2 separate regions of the Homo sapiens genome follow, and region 2 is linked to region 1. Evidence: promoter capture Hi-C in human tissues and cell types (Jung and others, 2019). All regions are on one chromosome and are shown on one strand. The core of a region is centred on a gene start or on the middle of the fragment in contact, and the rest is flanking DNA. Distances in the headings are between cores, read along the strand shown.

Region 1 (3,098 bases), core at 23-2,522:
ACCCAGTAACCTGGACAACTGTTTACCTCCTACCCTGGAGCACAAAGGAAATGACACAGCCCCTGGCTGAAACCAGAGGCAGTGTGGCTCAGGGATTATGTGAGCAGGCTCTGGAGTTAGGGTCTCAGCACCACGCAGTTCAGACAAGCAGCCTAACCACTCTGTGCCTTGGCTTCCTTCGCCAGGAAATGCGAGTGATGACTTTCTCTCACGGAGCTGTTGGGAGGCACAGATCCCAAACAACACCTGTAAAGCACTTAGCCCAGGACCCGGCCCTAGCAAGCAATTAGAAGCTGTCTGCCTTTATTTTAAGTCGCCCCTCCAGCTAATGGGAAACACAAGGGCAGGATCCCACCTGACGTCTTCTCTGTTAGAGCCCAACGAACAGCTAGGAGAGACCTTTGCCCCCACACTAAACAAAGGAGAGGGGCGTGTGAAGGGAAAAGGAGCCTCGGCTTCCGTTCATATCCCCCTTGAAGGCACAGCAGACTTGAGGATGACCTGAGAGGTGTCAAGGGAGGGTCAGTGGGTCCGCCACGCTGTCCACCCCTGCCCTTGAAGAGGACACCACCTGCCTGGGGCTGAATGACCAAGGCCCCTCCAGGGCCTCAGGTAGCTAGTCTTATCAGGTGCTGGAACCTTTGCGGATTTGGTTTCTTAGCAGAGCTCGCCTCACCCTTTCCGCCCCCGCCCTTCCCCCCAGTCCCCGAGTCCCCAGCCTCCCTCCTCAGGACTCCGCCAAGGCTGCAGGAAGTGGTCACCCAGGAACAGCCCGAGGGGTGGCCTCTGCCTTCCTGGCGTCAGGAGAGTCGGACGCTTGGCCCTTTCCCAGCCCGGCCTCGTATAGGGTCCGAGGAGCCCATAGCTGCACTCCTAGTTAGGTGGGAGGTCGGACTCCGCCGACAAATCCCAAAGAGAGGGGTGGGGAAGAAGGAGATACCAGCCCTGAAAGCGAAAAGCCGGAGAGGAAAGTCCTGAAAAGCCGCCAGGAATTCCCAAGGAGCGCAGGGCTGGAATGGAGGCGCTGCCCGGACCCTCTCCTCCCACCCAATCCCGCGTCGTCACCCCCTGCTTGGGGTCGGGGGCTCTGGGGTCTGCGTAGGCTGGGAGCCGTTCCGGAACCGGACACCTGGCGCGCACGTCCCGGGAAAGGCGGAGGGTGCATTGCCCCTCCTCACGCCCCCTGTCCCCTGTACCTGCGGCGGCGGCGTGTCTGGCGGGACCCAGCAGCGCGGGGCGTGTTCCGACCACTTAAAAGTTACAAAGTGAAACTCCGGCGCCTCCTGCACATGCGCAGAGCTGCGGCCACCCCTTTCCCAATTTGGAGTCTTGGCCCGCGGCGGCGCAAGCCTGTACGCAGCTGACTGCGCCTCCCGCGGTGGCCCTCGGCGGTCCTCTGCCCCGGCCTGGCCTCCTGGTCGCCGCTCAGCCCCGCAGCTCCTCCCGGAGGTCTGCAAGCCCCGGACCGGCCAGCTCACGTCCAGGCTCCAAGAAGGGATCCGCCGGGGCGCACCCTCTTCCGTCCCCCGGCACGAGCCCAGTCTCTGGACGCCTCCGGGAGAACTGGGCCAAGCACAGGGTGGTCGCGGCGCAGGGAGAGCATCTGCAAACGTTGGTCCCTGTAGTGCTTTGAATTTCCCCGAAGAGCTCTTAGACCCGCCCCGGGAGAGTGGGGTTGCGGGGGTGGTAGCATGGGGAGCTCAGCAGGATTCAGCCCGCACCTCGGCTCCGGGTAGTCGGGAACCGCGCGGAGCGCCCTGCAAGAGGCCACGGCTCCCCCGCCGCTGTAGAAGGCCGGACCGTGAAAGCCCGGAGGGTCTCCGTTCGGGCAAAAATGTGGGGGCGGGTCGCAGCATTTCCAACGCCCCCTGGGGCTAGTCCATTACTGCTCGAGCCAGGGCCGCCAAGGGCACCTACTCCAGCCCAGGTCCGAGAGCGCGGCATGCCTCCCGGCCGGGAGCCAAATGTTTCCAGGGAGCCGGTGGCCTCCACAACCGGACCGCAAGCTCGCGAGGGCAGGGCCGGCCCGCCGCGCCAGGGACTGCTGGGCGCTGCGCGGGAAGCGAGGCTGGGTTCGGGGAGGACCGCGCGCCCTGGGAATCAAGGAGCAAACCAACCCGTCCGCAGGCCCCTGTTTCCCTATCTGTGAAATGAGTGGTTGGACCAAAGCTTCCTCTCAGGTCCCTTCCAGCACCCCTCTCTGAGCTCTGAGCAGTCCTCACCCCACATGCATGCCTTTGCAGGTTCTCCGACCTCCCTTCCATTTCTGAGCTTTCATCTTTTTCTGTAACGGCATAAAAATATCCTCCTTATGGCCGGGCGCGGTGGCTCATGCCTGTAATACCAGCACTTTGGGAGGCCGAGGTGGGCGGATCACCTTAGGTCTGGAGTTCGAGACCAGCCTGACCCGCATGGAGAAACCCCGTCTCTACTAAAAATACAAAATTAGCCGGGTGTGGTGGCACATGCCTGTAATCCCAGCTACTAGGGAGTCTGAGGCAGGAGAATCGCTTGAACCTGGGAGGCGGAGGTTGCGGTGAGCTGAGATTTCACCATTGAACTCCAGCCTGGGCAACAAGAGCGAAACTCTGTCTCAAAAAAAAAAAAAAAAAAAAAAAAATTCCTCCTTACCTCCCTGTCCCTGATTCTAGCGCCAGTCTGTGGCTGTCCAGGAGTGGGGTGGGGAGGGTCTCTTCCTGCCTCTCTCAGTTCTTTTCTGTCCCATCTGTCTTTCCCCTTCTCTCCCCAAAGCTCTAGCCACTAGTTATTTTCCAGGGTTTTTCCTCTATGCCCCCCGCCAGTATCATCTCTGCCCTTGTCCCTCCATAGCTGCGCCTGGCCATCCCCCCTCCCTGCTCTCTTACCTCCACATCTGACGGTCTGCAGAGTCCTGGGTGTGGCCCCTGGACTCCCCGTTGGCTCCTTAGACTGTCCCTGTCCAATCTTTCTTCCACTCCCCACTCCCGCACCTGCCTGTCCTCCTTCCTTCCTCAATGAATGGTGCCCCCACCTGTCTGGTCTGTGCCATGGGTCCAGGCAAGTGCAAGGTTCCGGTCTTGGTAATTAGAATGCTGGAGCCACTGACAAAGATTTCAGAG
Region 2 (2,873 bases), core at 170-2,669, 540 kb before region 1:
ATAGACTACACTTTGGAAAACACTGCATTAACCCATTCTTTTTTCTTGCTAGATATAATTTGCTTGATTAAGTAACAGTGCTAAAAATGCTAATGAAGTTACATTTTCCTGAATAGACAACATGGTCCCCATGTTAGGAATGTGTGTTGAGAAGCTGCTGGAGGGCACTGTTGTAGAGGGCAGGCTTCAGTGATAGACCTCACTCTGTCATTTTCTGGCCATGTGATATGGGCAATTTGTTTAATATCATTAAGCTTCAATTTCACCCTTCATAAAGTGGAATGAAGTATTGTCTCTGCTTTATTAATCTGCCCACTCTTCACTATGACTGCTGCTGACACCACCCTGCTCCACGCCACCATCATTTCTCACATGTAACCCAGTCTGCCAGCTTCCCTCTTCCTCCTCTGCCTCTCCTCCCAGGCTATTCTCAAGATGGCTGCTACATGTTGGGTACAATGTACACTGCTCAGGTTATGGGTGCACGGAAATTTCAGACTTCACCACCATACAATTAATCCATGTAGCTTTACTTCTAAAGCTATTGAAATTTTTTTTTAAATGATAGCTGCTAGAGAAGTCTGATTTAAAAAGACCATGTCACTCCTCAAATCCCTCCATTGGCTTCTCACTCACTCAGGTAAAAACCATGGTTTTCACAATGATCTAGTGGCAAGTCAAAACTTCTACTATTTAACATTTTTCTGTACTCCATCCTTATGTGTAAACTAAACATAGTATGTACACAGTCTGTGGTTGTATTTTTTTAAGACTTCAATGCAAATGTATTCATATAATATAAATTGAAAGTGTACTTTGTATACAAAGCTGAAAAACACTAAAAATCTTGTGTACTTCCAGGAAAAATGCTTTATGTATTTTTAAATAAATTGGTTCATTTTTTTCTTCTACATGTTCTTTGAATAACTGGTGCCTTTCTCATGTTCAGGTTATACTTATCTACAGAAATAGACAACCCCCATTTTCTTCCATCAGTTTATAACTTTGTTACTATGATCAACTTCACTGTAACATTCCAAGGTTTGCAAGATCAACTCTTGTCTACTGTGGTAACTCATGAAGTTCCTCATTTAGAAGATCAACGTTCCAAGTTACTGGAGAGTATTTCCCTTGATGCCATAACTCTTGAAGAACTAGAGGAAAAAACATTAAATTTACTGCAGAAAGCACTAGGTAAGTCAAGATATTTAGTGATAGTAAGAGATCTTTGCAAAGGATAGAATAAAAAGTTATAAGAACCAAATTTTGAATTTGAGCCAAAAATACCAAATCTCCATTTCCACCAGGTAACTGATAAAGGTAGGTGAATCACCCCATTTCTAAACTTAAATATTGTGAATTTTGGTGTCCCTCAGTTCCACTTTTGCTTCAGCTCATTGTGTTGTAGAACATTTGCCACCCTGTAACTGGTATAAGTTCTAAGACAAATCTTACGGAATCTAGTTAGTTCCCTCCAAGGCTCTATGCCTGTACTTCAGGTACAGACATCTGTTATATGTCTCAAGTTAGATTACAGAGACTCAATGATTGGGTTTTCCCCAAGTATTAATAATGAAAAGATATTTTATTTTATTTTTCTTTATTTTTTATTTTTTTTAGACAGTCTTACTCCATCACCCAGTCTGGAGTGCAGTGGCGCAATCTCGGCTCACTGCAACCTCCGCCTCCTGGATTCCAGCAATTCTCCAGCCTCAACTTCCTGAGTACCTGGGATTACCAGCGCATGCCACCACACCCGACTTAATAACTAAAAGATATTTTTAAAGAAAATAATCCAGTGACTTTTATGTATCCCATTAAAACATGCTGTTGGCCGGGCACGGTGGCTCACGCCTGTAATCCCAACACTTTGGGAGGCCGAAGCAGGTGGATCACCCGAGGTCAGGAGTTCGAGACCAGCCTGACCAACATGGAGAAACCCCATCTCTACTAAAAATACACCAGCCTGACCAACATGGAGAAACCCCGTCTCTACTAAAAATACAAAATTAGCCAGACTTGGTGGCGCATGCCTGTAATCCCAGCTACTTGGGAGGTTGAGACAGGAGAATTGCTTGAACCCAGGAGATGGAGGTTGCGGTGAGTCAAGATGGTGCCATTGCACTCCAGCTTGGGTTAGAAGAGCAAAACTCCTTCAAACAAACAAACAAAAAAAGCTTTTAATTAAAGTAGCAGTAGAAATTATTTTCTTCTTCAGCACAAAAAATATCTAAGAAACCACAATCTTTACTGCATCTAAACTTAAAGAAACATAAATTCCTGAGTCACACTGATGTATGCCCCTAAGTCAACTGTGATAAAATACAGTTTATCTAACAATGGACTGCCTTTCTATTTTAACTTGTGACTCACTGGAACTTGAAGGTTTCTCAAACACTTTAGTCCTCAAGAGTATGTATAGAAATCATCTGTAGAGTTTATTACCTTTCTTTCTTTTTAAAAAATACAAATGCCCAGTGGGTACCGCCACAGACTTACTGAATCTGAACTTCCGCACATCGGGCCCTGGCTTATATTTATTTTCGAAGCTCTCTACACAATTATAATGTCCACTTCTGATTACATATTATTTGTCTAATCTAAAGCCCATGGTCTGAAAGGCAAGTCCATTTGTTACCAGATACTGTAGTAAAACAAATTAAAAGCTAGTTTTTTTAAAAAGGCAAAATTTTACCAATAGTAATAATAAGAATATAATTTTTGAAAGGGGAGGAAACCAAGTTTGATAGGGCATGAAGCACCCATATCCTGGGAGCAATATTGACCATTTCAAACATAAAAGAACCCAGGGAATTAAAAACAAAACAAATAAAAACTACTTGCTGATGAGGTCTCACTGAATGAGCAATCAA

Evidence for each region. Contacts are between HindIII fragments. The study calls those that stand out against the background at their distance.
Region 2: a contact is called between a fragment that was not itself captured here and the fragment with the promoter of TMEM63A in region 1, in 1 of the 25 tissues and cell types used here (spleen).

What each region holds. Positions count from the first base shown.
Region 1 is chr1:225,881,108-225,884,205 of GRCh38, forward strand. TMEM63A (transmembrane protein 63A) reads right to left here and starts at 1,273. Exons shown (of 25, transcript NM_014698.3): 1 at 1,197-1,273. RefSeq lists silencers at 682-801, 1,362-1,521 and enhancers at 2,032-2,081, 2,142-2,191. The HindIII fragment of the contact is 9,047 bases long and covers 1-2,871 here.
Region 2 is chr1:225,339,508-225,342,380 of GRCh38, forward strand. DNAH14 (dynein axonemal heavy chain 14) reads left to right here. Exons shown (of 86, transcript NM_001367479.1): 69 at 950-1,194. Among named protein-coding and RNA genes, the nearest start is that of LBR, 87 kb to the right of the region's middle. The HindIII fragment of the contact is 4,973 bases long and covers 1-2,873 here.